Linked DNA regions of Homo sapiens: regions 1, 3, 4, 5 and 6 are each linked to region 2. The links are contacts of gene promoters, found by promoter capture Hi-C in blood cells and fetal thymus (Javierre and others, 2016). All regions are on one chromosome and are shown on one strand. Each heading gives the region's core, a stretch centred on a gene start or on the middle of the fragment in contact. The rest is flanking DNA. Distances are from core to core; before and after follow the strand shown.

The links. The method cuts DNA at HindIII sites, captures the fragments that hold promoters and counts their contacts. A CHiCAGO score of 5 or more calls a contact.
Region 1: a fragment that was not itself captured here is called in contact with the fragment with the promoter of MYCN in region 2 in 1 of 17 cell types (M1 macrophages); the score reaches 5.9 in M1 macrophages.
Region 3: a fragment that was not itself captured here is called in contact with the fragment with the promoter of MYCN in region 2 in 1 of 17 cell types (M1 macrophages); the score reaches 5.2 in M1 macrophages.
Region 4: a contact is called between a fragment that was not itself captured here and the fragment with the promoter of MYCN in region 2, in 3 of 17 cell types (M0 macrophages, megakaryocytes and M1 macrophages). The highest score is 7.8, in M0 macrophages.
Region 5: a contact is called between a fragment that was not itself captured here and the fragment with the promoter of MYCN in region 2, in 1 of 17 cell types (activated CD4 T cells). The highest score is 5.7, in activated CD4 T cells.
Region 6: a fragment that was not itself captured here is called in contact with the fragment with the promoter of MYCN in region 2 in 2 of 17 cell types (M2 macrophages and M0 macrophages); the score reaches 7.2 in M2 macrophages.

The regions. Positions count from the first base shown.
Region 1 is chr2:16,442,599-16,445,298 of GRCh38, forward strand. No RefSeq gene overlaps it. Among named protein-coding and RNA genes, the nearest start is that of CYRIA, 220 kb to the right of the region's middle. The HindIII fragment of the contact is 765 bases long and covers 912-1,676 here.
Region 2 is chr2:15,939,108-15,941,807 of GRCh38, forward strand. MYCN (MYCN proto-oncogene, bHLH transcription factor) reads left to right here and starts at 1,443. Exons shown (of 3, transcript NM_005378.6): 1 at 1,443-1,636. It overlaps MYCNOS (MYCN opposite strand), which reads right to left and starts at 2,578. Exons shown (of 4, transcript NR_110230.2): 1 at 2,425-2,578; 2 at 1,867-1,990. RefSeq lists an enhancer at 1,041-1,571. The HindIII fragment of the contact is 19,196 bases long and covers 1-2,700 here.
Region 3 is chr2:16,424,034-16,426,733 of GRCh38, forward strand. The region is part of intron 2 of LOC107985855 (a long non-coding RNA gene); the gene reads left to right. Among named protein-coding and RNA genes, the nearest start is that of CYRIA, 240 kb to the right of the region's middle. The HindIII fragment of the contact is 823 bases long and covers 897-1,719 here.
Region 4 is chr2:16,300,032-16,302,731 of GRCh38, forward strand. No RefSeq gene overlaps it. Among named protein-coding and RNA genes, the nearest start is that of GACAT3, 250 kb to the left of the region's middle. The HindIII fragment of the contact is 2,783 bases long and covers 1-2,700 here.
Region 5 is chr2:16,336,546-16,339,245 of GRCh38, forward strand. No RefSeq gene overlaps it. Among named protein-coding and RNA genes, the nearest start is that of GACAT3, 290 kb to the left of the region's middle. RefSeq lists a silencer at 1,657-1,820. The HindIII fragment of the contact is 2,230 bases long and covers 272-2,501 here.
Region 6 is chr2:16,237,182-16,239,881 of GRCh38, forward strand. No RefSeq gene overlaps it. Among named protein-coding and RNA genes, the nearest start is that of GACAT3, 190 kb to the left of the region's middle. The HindIII fragment of the contact is 1,765 bases long and covers 372-2,136 here.

The DNA of each region.
Region 1 (2,700 bases), core at 44-2,543, 500 kb after region 2:
CATCTCCAGGGGCGTGCAAGTTCCTCTGCATCTTTTTCAGAGATTGTGTGAATAAAGAGTGTTGTGGACCTCTAGGTAATGAAAGACAGATGGACCTGTAGGAGGAAGAAGTTAAGAGCATGAAAGGGGAGCCCCCATAGCTGGCAAATTCTTGTGCTCAGGCTCAACTGTAAGTCTTTCAGCAACTCTACCAGCAAAACAAGAGATCGGCCAGTGCTCCAAAAAGTCAGTCTTAGCTGCTTCAGAAGACAGATCTTTCTAGCTCTAGCTAGAATTAGGTGGGTAGGAGAACCCTGAAGTCTTCTCTCTAACTATAGCTTAGTGGCCTCATCTGTGGAGAATTGAATGGAGAGATGACATTTTCTTCTGAAGATAAAAGCTGCCTGCAGCTGGTAAGGCTCAAGGCTGAGCAGTGTTATCTGGTTGGCTTTACTGAAAGCAAGCACAGGTTCTCATATTGGGTTTAAGACCTCTGCATATGGTTATGCAGGTAGTGCTCTGCTCAAATTTAGAAGATGTCACTTGTATAAACTCTACCAGGTGATATTCAGATACACCCTAATTAAATGGAGCCCCCTAGGGTTGAACAGTGCATAAGCTATGCAGTGATGAGTGGCAGCTCTGCCTAGGGAGAGCTTCAGATCTACTGGAGTAATACTGTACTTCCTGTAACATAACTCCATGGTTCAGTTGGATAGGTTGCTTTCTGATTGGAAAGGACATATATAAATGGCGGTGATCTTCTCTTCTGGAATAAAAATCAGGACCCATGGTTGGCAAAAGACTCTTTGATTTATGATGTCACTCTTAGTGTGTACTCTTAAAGAGTACAACAATACATTATTTTTAGTTAATTAATTAATTTTTATCAAAAAGAATAAAATTAACAGCATATTGGAGTGATCTTGGAAAGCTTGGGGCATTCAAAAGTTATACAGATAATGCAATAAAAAGACATCATATTCCACTAACTCAGTCTGCCATAACAAAGTACCACAGACTGGGTGGTTAAACAATGAAAATTAATTTTCTCATAGTTCTGGTGCTGAAAAATCCAAGATCAAAGTGCCAGCCAGTTCGTTTCCTAGTGAAGGCTCTCTTTCAGGCTTGCAGGCATCCACCTTTTCTTTGTGTCCTCACATGGTGAAGAGTGCAAGAGAGAGAGATAGTGAGCCCATCTTGTATCTTCCTCCTCTTATAAGGGCACCAGCCCTATCAGACTAATGCATCTTCTGACTTTAGGTTCTTGTGACCTCATCTAACGTTTACCACCTCATCACAAGCCCTATCTCCAAATATAGTCACATTAAGTGTTAGCACTTCAACATACAAATTTGGGGGTGGGAACACAAACATCTATTTCATAATAGATATTAAATATTATTAACTTGCCTCATAAACCCTAGCCCAATGTAAAGCCATCCCCTAAAATGGCTCCCCTAATCTCTACTTTCTGATGTCCATGACCTTGTATAACATCAAACACTGAATAAGACTGAGTTCTGAAACCTGTGCCTTCCTCCTTGCTCTTTTAAATCACCTGCTCTAGGGGAAGCTAGCTGCTATCTGGCAAGGTCAACAGAGAAGCTCTATCAATAGGTCCACATGGTAAGAAACTGATTTATTAGTGACCTGCAAAGTTTTGACTCAAGTTGTATTGGGCAGAAACACTGCCAAGCTTACATAGAAAGGAGAAAGTATAAAGTGGAAAGGGGTCTTTGGACACCTAAACTTCTGAAGACGGGAAACAGACCACAAAGAGTAATCAGCTACAAAAATATGCTGCCTTCGTGGAAAAGGAAGAATGACTAAAACAGTAGAATCAAGAGATCAGAAGATGGAGTCAAGAGCCATGGAGAATAATTCTTGGGTAGGAATGGAGTGGATTCTTAATGAACTTTCATCGAGAGCCTGGCTGGATTTCAGAATTGCCCTTAATCAGTGACTCCTATATGCCTCCATTTCCCCCTTTATTGAGGACATGTGTCTAAAGTAGTCATCCTACTCTTGCCCAACTATTGTTTGTTTGTTGGGTGTGTGGAGGGAGATAACTGGTGTCTTCAGTTTTAGATAAACTGATTTGGAGAGGTTGTATTCAAGGAACCAGGCCTAAGGAGACTTGTCTGCATCTGATTTAGATAATGAGCTCTTGGATGTATAACTGATGCTATAACGGGATGAGGTTTTGGGGGCCTGCGCAGAGAGTGAGCAGTTTTGCATGTGCAACATGAATCATAGGGTAGGCAGCCTCCCAGAAGGCTCTGGTGATTCTTGCATCTGAGGTCCATGCCCTTGTATGGCCCCTTCCCACTTGGAATAAAACTGACCTGTGTCACTGACACAATACATTCATAAAAATAATGGTTTGTGACTTTGAGGCTGGGTTGTAAATGACACTGCAATTTCCACCTGGTTCTGTTTTGGATCCTTGCTCTGGTGGAAGCCAGAGCTTCCATGCTGTGGGGACATTCAGCCATTGGGAGAAGTCTTTTGGTGATGAACTGAGGCTTCTTGCCTGCAACTAGTAATAACTTGGCATCTGGTGAGAGACTACCTTGTAAGTGGATCCTCCAGCCTTCATCAAGCCACCTCCTGAGAGACCCTAACCTATAGCCATGCAGCTAAGCTGCTTCCAAATTTTTGACCCACAAAAATTATGAGAAATAATAATTATTTACTATTGTTCTAGGCTGCTACACT
Region 2 (2,700 bases), core at 193-2,692:
CAAACAAGCCTAAGGAATGTTTTTCAAGGCAAAATCCCACCTCACTGTGTATTTGGTTGTGAAGGGGGCTGTCCAGGAGATCAGGGTTGTTTTTGGAGAGTTTGGAGGGCAGGGGCAATAATGTCTGACCCCCTGCAAACAAATACACCTGTAAGAAAAGCTAGACCAGAGTGAAGTAAAGCCAGGATTTGATGGTGGCGGGAAGGGAAGGGGCCAATGCTGCTGCTGGACAGAGGGGTGTTATTTTCCCCAGAAGAATAGCATGTCGTGGTCATCATCATAATAATAGCTGACACAACTATTATGGGCTGGGGACTTATAAGAGCTTTCATAACTCTCAGGTAGGAGGCACTACGAACTCCATTTCACAATTGAGGAAACTGAGGCACAAAGAAACGAAGTAGTGACAGCAGCTTTCCTTTTTCCCTTCAACAGTTTGGAATCAAGCTGTTTGAGCCGAGGCTGGGTCTCAGGAGGTGTGGACAGCACTTCCATCTCGGTAAATCAGATTCGCCTGCCCATAACTGGGGAGAATGGTGGCTTTGAAAAGGTTAACTTGGGAGCCCTGGGGACGGCTGCAGGGAACGTACGCCCATTCCCCCTAGGAAGCAGAGCCAGGCCGCCTCCTCCTCCGCAGTGGTGAGGACGCGTGGACAGTCCCGCGGGGGCGGCGGGAGACCTGCGGAGTGGCCGCACTCCAGGTCCGCGCCAAGGCCGGGCAGCTCCGCTTTCTGCTCAGTCTCCGCGAGGTGTCGCCTTCGGCCGAAGAAACCACCGCGGCGCCACCCTCGTAGCTCGCACTTATTTATTTATTTATTTTCAAACAAGGGGGGCGCCCCTCTTCTTTCAATTTGAAACTGGAAACATCCAGAGGTCTTGTTCCTAAGGGGGCGCGTCCTCTCCCTGCTATTTTGCACCTTCGGACTAGCCTTCTTTCGTAATTACACAGGAGCAACCTCCCTGCAAGGCCTTGCTCAACGTTGGCCTCGCGCTCAGCTGCACAACACGCAGTCAAAGCGGGGGCTGGGTTAGAAGCATCGGTCTCCCCTCCCCAACACACACCCCCGGAGCCCTCCGTAATTTTTTTTTCTTTTAATGACAAGCAATTGCCAGGCTCGCAGGGTGGGTGCTGCATTGCACCGCTCCGCGCGCAGCTGGTTCTCAGAGTGCAGCCGGTGCAAGCCCGGGGGTCCAAAAGGGCGGGAGGAGCACACCCTGGGCTTCCCAGCTTTGCAGCCTTCTCTCTGCAAAGAAAAGCAAGTGGCTTTTGGCGCGAAAGCCTTGGCGCCTCCCCTGATTTTTATGGAAATCAGGAGGGCGGGGTAAAGCCGCTTTCCTCTCCTTTCTCCCTCCCCCTTGTCTGCGCCACAGCCCCCTTCTCTCCCCGCCCCCCGGGTGTGTCAGATTTTTCAGTTAATAATATCCCCCGAGCTTCAAAGCGCAGGCTGTGACAGTCATCTGTCTGGACGCGCTGGGTGGATGCGGGGGGCTCCTGGGAACTGTGTTGGAGCCGAGCAAGCGCTAGCCAGGCGCAAGCGCGCACAGACTGTAGCCATCCGAGGACACCCCCGCCCCCCCGGCCCACCCGGAGACACCCGCGCAGAATCGCCTCCGGATCCCCTGCAGTCGGCGGGAGGTAAGGAGCAGGGCTTGCAAACCGCCCGGCGCCCAGGGAAGCGACGAGCGCCGGGGCAAGGCAAGCCCTGGACGGGATTGCGACGTGCGCACCGGGCGCCCTAATATGCCCGGGGGACTGTTTCTGCTTCCGAAACAAAACCATCTCTGGGTTTTCCCAGAAAAGCCAGTTCCAGCCCCGAAGGCATCCTGGCTAGAGGAGACCCGCCCTAATCCTTTTGCAGCCCTTACCGGGGGGAGTAATGGCTTCTGCGAAAAGAAATTCCCTCGGCTCTAGAAGATCTGTCTGTGTTTGAGCTGTCGGAGAGCCGGTGCGTCCCCACCCCAGGCTGGGGTTCTTCTCCAAAGGGTGCCCCTGGAGGAAGAAGAGGGGGGGATTAGGCAGGGCGAGGCCGCCGCGGTCGCAATCTGGGTCACGGCTGCTCCAGCTTGGAGGAGAGGCGGCTCTCCCGGCGACCCTCCTCGCGCGGGCGCCCCTGCCATTCCCGGGAACAGGGGCTCAGCCTCTCCCTCCCTGGAAGAGGACGTTGTCGTGGGTTTGGAAGAGCAGGGGTGGGCTTAGAGAGCTTCCAATTAAGCTATTGGCAGGAGTATCCCTGCAGCGGGTGAATGCCGAGGGGCGTTTGCTCAAATTTGGGGAGGGGAAGGATTTGTGGATATGGGTGTCTGTTGTTGGTCTCTGTCTAGAGAAAGGCTTTTTTTTATTTGCAAAGTTTTCTAAATCCCCTGCTATCATTTGCACTCCTGAGGTTGCATTTTTACAAAGGGGGTAGAAGGTACTCCAAATACCATTCCCGGTAGCTGGGTCGGAGAGCCTGGGGCTTCCCCTGAGCAGCCGGCCCCACACCGCTGCGAGTGCGGTTGTCTGCGTGCTCGTGAGAGCTAGAATTCTGCAGCCAGGAACAGCCCCCTCCCCCAGGCAGTGCCTTGTGTGAATGAAATGGCAGTTTCCAAAGTTGCGGAGCCTCGCCACCACCCCCTGCATCTGCATGCCCCCTCCCACCCCCTGTCGTAGACAGCTTGTACACAAAAGGAGGGCGGGAGGGAGGGAGCGAGAGGCACAAC
Region 3 (2,700 bases), core at 58-2,557, 480 kb after region 2:
AATTCCCCCAGAGCATTGGCCAGAATTGCATTACATGACAGATACTAAACCAGTCACTGACAAAGGGAGGGAGATAACTCTGATTGGCTTGAATCGATCAAAGTTTCCTCTTAGAACTGGGGATAAGGAGTAGCTTGGGAGCAGGTGACTTTCTGAAAGTGATCTGGGTTCTGTTAGAAGGAAGAATGAACAGAAAGACATTGTGCTGCAGGTGAACAGCTGAGCACATTATGCACAGAGATATTTCATTTTTTAGATAATTAGAATAGGGAGAGGACATTCTACACAGGGCAAAAGTGAAGCTGCCTCTTTTGAGGAGAAATGGTTAATTTAGCTGAAGCATGAAAGCAAGAGGGGGAATCACTGCAGAAGAAGATATTCTGGACAACAATACAATTATGATATCAGAGAACTCTTAATTTCTCAAAAACACTTCACTGACTCTCACATCAACTAGAACAGCAAGTATCAACAGAGAAATCTGAAGTCCAGAGCAGGTGAGTAAATCTTCCAAGGTCACACAGCCTGTAAACAACAAGGTCTGGTGACTCTTGCCTGGGATCCTTTTGCAGTTCCTTGGCAATTAGTTGAGGCAGGTATATTAGTTATCTATTGCTGCGTAACAAATTATCCCAAATTTGGGAGCAGATCAGCTGAGTGGTCCTGACTCTGCTGAGATTGCACTGAAGCTGTCAACTGGGACAAACCATCTAAGGCTTGTGTGGGGCTGCAGGATCTGCATCTAAGCTCGGTTGCATGGACTTTGGCAGAAGGCCTCAGTTCTTCCCCATGTGAACCTCTCCACAGGGACCTCTCCACAGGGCTTCTTGCATTTCCTTATGGCTTGGTAGTGGCTTCCACTAGAGCCAGCAATAAGAGAGAAAGAGCAGGACAGAAGCTTCAATGACCTGTATTACCTAAATTTGGATGCCACTACATTCTGTTGGTTAGAAGTGAGTCAGTAATTTCAGCTCATACTCAGAGGAAAGGTAATTAATCTCTACCTTTTGATGGGAGGAGTATCAAAGAACTTATGGGCATATTTTAAAACCATCACAGCAGCAAAAATGCAACATGCATCCTGACATCTGGGATGAGTTCACCATAGAGAAGTCATTCAATCTGAAGGCATTAAAATACAAAAATGGTACTCCACAACGATAATAGACCAGATGACTCAATAGGAACCGTGGTGATGGTGGCGACTGGGATTTGACTGAGGCTCACCAACAAAAACCTCAATTATATTGGTTCCAAAGCTATGCATAAATTCGGAGAGAGAGCGTCTAATATGAATGGTGGTAGGGAGTAGGTGAAATTCCCTGCTCATCATTCTGCCCTAGTAATATGCATTAAATGCTCACTATTATAATCAAAATGACACACCATCCTTCTTTCTGCTGACTGTGGGGCCTCAGGATACCTAGGTCTCTGTCTCAAGGTTGGGCAGTTTTTCCCATGATCAGAAAATACAAGATCTTTTACTAGTACCCTCTTAGCAGTTTCCAAAATGCTGGAGAGAGCTCAGCATTCTTGGACCAGAAAGGCAAGCACAGAGTGGTACCTCCCCCTACCCCTTCTACAGCCCCAGTGAGGACTTTCAATCCAGTGGCCTCATCCCAGGGAACCTTGGGAGAGCTGGCAAATACTCTAAACAGATAAAAGATAATTGAACAAGGAGTGAGTAGTAAACGGTGACAAAGTGCTATTTCCATAATAAGCTTATCTGAGTAAACTTTCTCAGAGCCCCTGAGTTCCAGAGCAGGGTGTGGATTTGGCAATAGTAAAGAAACAGGCCACGCCAGGAATGTCTGGGGAGCTAATGAATGCCCCTGAAGTGGTTGACGTTCCTATCTCTGCTTTGGATCCCTGCCACCTTGACTCGAATGTCAGACGGTGTTTAATTGGCAAACAGGGCTTCAAAGGGTTGCTGGGCCCTGCTCCCAGGGCCCTGGGGCTGTTAATGTTTAATTGTCATGTGCAAGGGCCCACTAGCTCTTGGTAGATTTGGGTGTTTTATTGCACTTTGAAAAAGCAACGTTATGAGTCTCCTTCTTGCTCCATGGACATTTTTACAGACATGCCTTGGAGTCACATGTTGCCTCACCTAAACTCTGAGTAGCAAAGTCACCATGTTATTCAGCAGGGTTAGAGAGAAACACCTTCAAGCTGAAAATACTCCAGATTTACTGCCTGTGTCCTAAAATCAACAAATATTGATTTCTTTGGAGCATCTGGATCAGCAACAGAGGAAAAAAAAAGAAACTGAGTTGGGGGTGTAGGTTTAGGGAAGAGAAAAAAGACACAGAAGTGAAATTGCTAAATGGCAGATCATACAATTTCTTCATTGAACGCTGGTGGCATCCACTCTCCTTGACACTGGCTCTGTTACTCATGGCTCTGCTGGAAATGCAAATCTTTAAAAAAATCCCTCTCCCTAAAAGGGCCTATTTGCTTTATATTGTTCATGTAATTTAAAAAGTCTAGAGATTGTCTTAATAAGACTTTATAGCCTTCCTCTAATTACATAGGGAAGAATAAGAAATAATAGAAGACAAATACTTTTTTTTTTCTAAACTACATGGAAATTGTGAATAAAGGAGTAGCTTCCAACTTCCTGACATTTGAAAAGCACTGTTTTGAATTGAATATGAATGATTCCTTTGAATTTTCAATTCAATTCCATTTAATTGAACACAT
Region 4 (2,700 bases), core at 105-2,604, 360 kb after region 2:
CTTTTAACTGTCTTTGTATTTAATATATAAAGGTTATTAATTTGCATATATTGAGTTGTTAATTACTAAATTCTCATGGTTCACAGTAGTTTTAAGTTGATTCTTTTGGTTCTCAACCTAAATGATAAAGTCTTATTTTTATTATTCAATTCTTAACCTCTAGTTTCATTGTTTTTGTCTATTTACATTGGTTAATTACTGAAACAGTGGTAAAAACTAATAGAGATTTTAGATATCTTGTGTTGTTTCTAAGTTTAGAGATAAAGCCTCTAGTGTTTCTTAGTTCACTATTAAGTAGGATGCTGGCTTTTGAGTTGACATTTACGTATGTGTGTGTGCAATCATAATATAATCATGCAGCATTAACTGTCAGCTCTTATTTTGTTGAATAATTTTTACATAGATGAGTGGTGAATTTGAGATATAGTTAGTAAATGGAAGATAAGTATGTCATTTTTTTCCCTCCTTAGCTATAATGATGGGTTCTATTAAGAGATTTCCTAGTGTTGAACCATCTTTGCATTCCTGGATGCAACATGCCAGGAAAACCACTGTTGTTTTTTGCTTTTTAGTTGTTTATTTGTTTATGCTGACAGATTCTGTTTACTAATGCTTTATTTGATATATGTATATACTTTTTGAAGATATGAGGTCTCATTACATTTTCCAGACTGGAGTGCAGTGGCTATTCACAAGTACGTTTACAGTGCACTATCTCTGGGCTCAAGTGATCCTCTCACATCAGCCTCCTGAGTAGCTGGGACAACAGGTACCTGCCACTGCACCTGGCACTCTTTGATATTCTTTAGTAAGATTGATCTGTCTTCTTTTTTTGATGCAGTTAGTTTTTGGTTTTAATGACACATTCTTTATAGAAAAGAACTGGAGGATTTTCTTTGCTTTTCTGTGCTGTAACATAGTTTCAGGAGCAGTTGGGATTCTTGATTTTTGCAAATGTGATAGAATTCCTATGAAAAAATATTCAGGGCTGGTGCTTTTATTGTAGGGGAGTTCTTTAGCATTCATTATTTTCTCTAAGAAAAATGGTTAGTTCAAACTTTCTGTCTTTGTAAGTATTATTTTTGGTAAGTTGTGTTTTTTCCATAATACCTATTTTATCTATTTTTTTCTTATTTACTTGTACAGAGTTGCAGCAAGGTAGTCCCTTATGACTTTAACATTTTATTTCTTCTATGTCTTTTTGATAGCCTTTTTTTGTGAAACTCTATTCTAAAGAATAATTTTCAAAATCAGAAGGAGAATTGACTAATAATGGTTCACAAGGCAATGAAGATTATAATAGCAAAACAACCAGGAAAAGCATGAGTAGCAGGAGAAACATAGATATCTAACAGTAGGGGTATAGCTAAATTGATTATGGTATGTACACATGAGACAATATTCTGTATAAAAAGGATATTATATAGAATTTATAATGTCATAGGAAAAATATTTTGAGTGAATGTTAAATTTAAAAGGACATAAAATTATCCGTGGAACACAATCTTAATACAAAAATAAAATGTCTACAAAAAAGATTGGGAGAAATACATCAGATCATTAAAATTAGATATGCATATATAATACCTTCAGAATCCAAAGGTCATTATGGAGACACAAAGCATCATTATGCCATGGGATGGGTCCTTGGAATGAGGAGTGTTATATGCAGTCTACCCTCCTGCCTACAATCTCCCTCATTCAAAGTGACTGGGAAAGCCGAAGAGAATATTATATACCTTTGAACACTGAAGCAGAGGCACAAGGATACCCCTAGGCACTACCAAAAAGTCTTGTTTTGTGAAGAGAGCTCCTTCCCTTTCCCCCTTCTTTTCTTCTCTTTTTTCCTTTCTCCTTTCCTTTGGATCTTCCTTCCTAGAGCACTTCCCCTGCAATCAGAGGAAATTAGAAAGTCCCCAAAGATCAAAAAGTCAAAATAATTAACAGATTCGTTAATTCATTCAACAAATACTTAGGAAGTCTCCAGCATTGTCCCATTGTGGAAAAAAACAGAATTGAAGTTCCTACCCTCAGGAAGAGTATGGGCTTGCGGGGAACACATGCTCCATGGAGATGAGTTGACTACTCCTGTGATGAGTGCCTCTTGAGCAGTGTGGTCCCTGGATCAAAGGCACCAGCATCCCTTGGAGACTTGGTGCAAATTCTTGGCCCACTTCAAAGCTGCTGAGTTAGGGATTCTGAGGGTGGGTCCAGCAAACTGGGTTTTAACCAGCTTCCAGGTGATTCTGAGAACCACTGCTAAGAAAAGAGGTTAACAAACTTTCAGGAAAGGGTCAGATTGTAAATATATTTCAGGCTTTTCAGATGGTATGGCTTCCGTCACAAGTACTCAACTCTGCAATTATAGTGCAAAGCTGCCATAAATAACATGTAAGCAAATGGATGTAGGTGTGTTCTCAGAAAACATTACTTATGGACACTGAAATTTGAATTCCGTATAATTTTTATGTGCTGTAAAATATTATTCTTCCTTTGCTTTTTCCCAACCATTACAAAATATTAAAATCATTCTTAGCTCTCTACACCAACAAAAATACGTGGCAGGGCAGATTGGCCGGCTGGCTGTAGTTTTCAGCCGCTGTGTTGGGCAGCTCTGATCATTAAGACAAGTCCTCCTATATTAAGCTGATATCTTCACCATGTAATTTACTCCCATCAGCCTTCTGGGGCTACACAGGG
Region 5 (2,700 bases), core at 137-2,636, 400 kb after region 2:
TTCTTAGAAACACAGGATGCTAAAAGGAGTGGAGCCTTAAAGATGCATCTAGGCATGGGATGCCATAGATGAGGAAACTAAAATCTAAAGGGAATGGGACTTGTCATCCCTGGTGCCATGCAGGGCCCAGGCTTCCTACCTTCTAACCCATACTCTTCCTGCAGAACCACGCTGACTTGCAATACTTATGCTTGGGATTTTCAAGAAGCCAGGCAGAGAGAATCTCATTATGTACCTAAAGCTTCTCTGGTGCTGCAAAGCACTGTTCAAAAGCTTAGGTCTTGTTGAGCTCATGAAGCAGTATCTGTGGCCTCTTCTGCACTCTCCATACTTGGCAGCCACACCAAACTTCATCAGAGAAAGATCCCCAGCCAGAGAGGGCATCTGTAGAGTGCAACTTGCTTGATTTTCAATATTGATAAAATAGGTCTGCTTGGTCATTTGGGGAAAGCACAACAGAAGGGAAGAGGAGAGAGCACCTCTGCACACCCAAGAGCAAACTACGGGGTGGGGTCTGGGTGCCGGGAGTGGGATAAGAGGTCAGGGGCAGCTTAACCTGTCCTCCTGTCTGCTTTACTAATCTCCTCTGGACAGCTCTGATCTCACCTTGCCATGGAGCTGTAAGTATGTTAGCGGGGAGCGCACAATGGATGTCAGAGATAGACACAAGCATTAAGGAGTCGGCTGTCAACAGGCTCAAAAGAATTAGTGGGGGCCTGTGTTAGGGGCTGACTGCGATGGGTAAGGGGCAGTTTGGAAAACGGTTCTCTCCACTCGCTATCTTCCAACAGTTATCAGTTGCTTTACAAATCATAGTCATGCCCCACATGAGGATATTTCCATCAACGATGGACCACTTATATAATGGTGGTCCCATAAGATTATAATAGAGCTGAAAAATTCTTATTCCCTGTTCCCACCACGTCATTGTGCAATTACTTTATTTTTCTCATAAATTTAGTGTAGCCTAAGTGTACTGTGTTTATAAAGTCTATACAGTAATATCTTAGGCCTTCACATTCACTCACCCCTCACTCATTGACTCACCCAGACCAACTTTCAGTCCTGCAAACTCTATTCGTGGTAAGCGCCCTATATAAATGTACCATTAAAAAAAAATCTTTTGTACTATATTTTACTGTACCTTTCCCATGTTCAGATATGTTTAGGTACACAAATAATTACCATAATGTTATAATTGCCTACCGTACTCAGTACAGTAACATGCTGTCCAGGCTTGTAGCCTAGGAGCAATAGGCTATACCACATAGCCTAGGTTCATAGTAGGCTACACCATCCTAGGTTTGTGTAAGTGTGATGTTTGCACAACAATGAAATCATCTAACGATGCATTTATCAGACCATATTCCTGTTGTTAAGCAACACATGACTGTAGGAGGTTCATCCTCAAAGACTGAAACTTGAGTACCTGAGCACACCATCCAGGGGGGTGGGTATCACCCAATCTAGCCTACCACTGTTGACACCTGAGCAGTCCTTCTGGTATTTGAGGTTGAACCCCCTGAACCTGTTACTACCACCACAGCTGCCACTCATCTGCATGTGCCACCTGCAGACCTGGGGACTGGCCCATCCAGCCCATTGTAGCCATCATCAAAAACAGCAGGGATCTCTTGGGTCCCAAAGATTGTCCCACCACTGCTACTGTGATTGCCCATGCCACACCTGCTGCCCAGGGGCTCAATAATCCACCTGCCCAGCCCACCACTGTCATTCCTGGCACCTGAGCAAGCCACCTTGAAGGCCAATAATCAGACTTCCTGGACTGGCTAACACATGCCAGCATATACAACCCTGGTGCCCAAGGATAGGCATGCTCAGCCTGCTGCTGCCATCAATGGGCCCTGAAGACTGGCCCACATGGTGTCTCAGTCCCCAGCAGAACTTCACCACTGCCTCCACTAACAACTGCACCCTAAGCCACTGAGGAAATCACAGATACCACTGATGCTGTTTTTAGCCAAAGAAATCATACAGAGACTACACTACTGCACAATCCCAGAATCAAAGCCAAAGTACCATACTCAACCAACTCCACAGATACATCTTCAGGAAAATGTCCTTCCCCAAAAAATCAAATTAAAAAATTGGAAGAAGAGACTGTTATGCTAGATGTGCAGATATCAACATAAGGACACAGGAAACATAAAAAAACAAGGAACTATGACACCTCCAAAGGAACACAAGAATTCTCTAGCAACAGATAACAATCAAAAAGAAATTTATGAAATCTGAAAAGCAATACAAAAAAGTCAGAAAAGCAATTCATGATATGAATGAGAAATTTACCAAAGAGATAGATATTATAAAAAATAACCAAATAGAAATTCTGTACATAAAAAATTAATTAATTTAAATACAAAATACATTCAAGAGCTGCAACAATAGACTAGATCAAGCAGAAGAAAGAATCTTAGAACTAGAAGATAGGTTTTTTGCAAAATCCAGTCAGATAAAAATGAGTACATAAGAATGAGCAAAGCTTAAATTTATATATGGGACACTGTAAAATGACCACATATTTGAATTTTTGGCCCAGAAGACAAAAAGAAAATGAAAGGGTAAGAAAACATATTTAATGAAACAATACATGAAAACTTCCCAAGTTTATTTAAAAATTAGACATCTGGATACAGGAGGCACAAAGATTCTCAAATAAATACAATTCAAAAAAATCTC
Region 6 (2,700 bases), core at 4-2,503, 300 kb after region 2:
TCCATCTATCCATCCATCCATCCACCCACCCATCCATCCATTCTTTCAACAGGCAATTGCTTGCTTGCTCTGTGCCAGACACTTGAGCTCTGTGGTGGTAATCATTGGGGGAACAATGAAGCCCCTGGCCTCAAGAAACTTGGAATCTCGTACAAAAGTGTTGTATTCCCCCTGCATGCTTGCCATTGCCTATGACCATACGGCATCCTTCACCTAGAGTATCATTATTTATGTTCTCCATCTAGAAAATGCTTCACTAACATTAAGAGTTAGTTAAAGCACTTCTTTCTAAGACTATCCATATCTCCCCATCAGTAAGAATATGGAGTCAGACCTGCAAAAAACCTCATGGTGTCAGACAATGCACAGGAAGCTTATTTCCCCTTTATTACCCATGGGACTTTAAAGAGATCTTTCTCTTTTTTTGAAACAGGGTCTGGCTCTGTTATTCAGGCTGAGTGCAGTGGCATGATTGAGGCTCACTGCCACCTCTGGCTCCCAGGCTCAAGCAATTCTCCCATCTCAGCCTCCCAAGTAGCTGGGACTACAGGCATGTGCCATGACACCTGGCTAATTTTTGTATTTTTAGTAGAGATGGGGTTTAGTCATATTGCCCAGGCTGGTCTCAAACTCCTGGGCTCAAGTGATCCGCCTGTCTCGGCTTCCCAAAGTGCTGGGATTACAAGCATCAGCCACCTTGCCCGGCCTTAAACAAATCATTTAATCTCTCAGGGCCTTAGTTGCTCAAACCATAAAATGGGAAGGATAATAATTGCTTATCTAATCTCACGGGGTAGTTGTGAGATTCACATAGTTGTCTAAATGCCTTAAACCACTGACTTTCTGTTGATTCATTTATTCCCTCAACATTTGTTAAGTGCTCTTTGGGCCAACCCTTGTGTTAGTTCTGGGGATTTATATTTAAGTGGACCCTTCCCACAGGGAACACATCACCTAGAGCAGGCAACAGTCATGGAAAAATTCCCACGCAGTGAGACATGTGATGAAAAAAGCCAGCGTGGGGAGGGTGGCTTCAAACATGAACATCATGCGATTTAAAATAACCAGAGCATGCATTCGCCTCACACTCACTATGCACACTGTCCTGTTCTCATGCTTTGCTTGCATTTGCCCATTTAATTCTCACATTTATTATCTCTCTTTGAAATAGGAACATTTATGATCCCCATTATACAGATGAGAAAAATGTAAGCAAAGGATGGTATGGCTAGTAATAGGCAGAGGTAATATTTCAACCTCCTAAGCCCTTTATAAACAAGCTCCACAGGTAGGGGTGAATGGGCATCCCATGGGGCCAAGGCAGTGAGTGAGGGTGTTGGCATGACCAGAGCAGAAGAAGGTGAGCTCGCGGGAGCAGGTCGAATTCCTGAGGGCAGGCAGCCTGGCTGAGGAATCTGCAGCCCCCAAGGTTACTGAAAATAGGTATCGTGTGATCAAACGCAGGCCTTCTAGGAACTTGGATTTACCTCCTTTTTTTGTCCTCCTTCTTCCCTCTCCTTTCATTCCTGGGGAATGTCTTGCCTGTCCTCTTGGACGCTGGCCTTGAACAAAGATGGCTTAAAAAAATAGTTGGAGGCGAGAATCAACTTTCACTTCATTAAAAAAAAAATTCTTTTTCCTTTCCTTTTTTTTTTTTTCCAGAGATAAGTTTCACTAATTTTTTTTTTCCAGAGTTGAGGTTTGCTATGTTGCCCAGGTGATTCTACTGCCTCAGCCTCCAGAGTAGCTGAGATTACAGGCCTGTGCCCCCACCCCTGTCTCTAGAACTAGGTTTTGGTTTGCAGAGTGGTAACATTCCCTGGCTACAGTTGTATGTTATGAGCCTTGTACATTTGCAGAGTATATGGGAAGAAAGCAGCCATTCATCAAGATCTCTCCTTACCTGTTGGACTTTGGATATATGACAAGAAGTTACTAAATGTCTAAGTAATGTCTTTTCCTTTTTATCTAAAAGACCCTAAAAATATGAGTATTTGGCATCATTCTGTCAACAATTGATTTGATTTGCCGTGAACTGATCTTTGCTAGGGTTCCAAGTTGGTTTAAATCAATGAGCTCTCTCTTTTTTGTTTTTGTCTCTCAAATTGTATTGCTTTGGAGAGTTTTTCTTTGAAAAGCTTTTATTGACTTTTGCTAAAAGAAGAAGCGATGTGTCAGATTCTAAATGAAATCCTCTTTCTGAGGAGCTGTGAGGTCCCCACAATGTGTCAACAACAATCAAGATGTTGAAATTGAAAGCATTCACAGAGGTCATTCAGCCCAGCCATTCCCAGATCTGACCGATCACCGGAATCATGTGGGCATCAGAGACAGAGCAACAACAACAAGCTACAACAGCAGCAGCAGCAGCAGCAGCAGCAGCAGCAGCAGCAGCAGCAGCAGAATGAAGGAATGAATGAATGAATGAGCGAGTGAGTGAGTAAATCCGCATTTCTGGAGGAGACTGTATTTACGAAGAATCTTCCCAGATCTCTATGGCAGCATGTCTGGGGACCCCTGCAGTCACTGGTCTCTCCAACAGGGCAGCAACCCAGAATGGTGCAATTTTGGCATTGCACACACCTGAGGAGGCACATGGGGGCTGAAATCCAGTCCAAGCTCCAAGGGAAAGACTTCTTTTTCTCTGTGTGACTCCCCCAACCTGTGGAGTGTGCCTCTAGGGCTGCATCCATGCAAGGG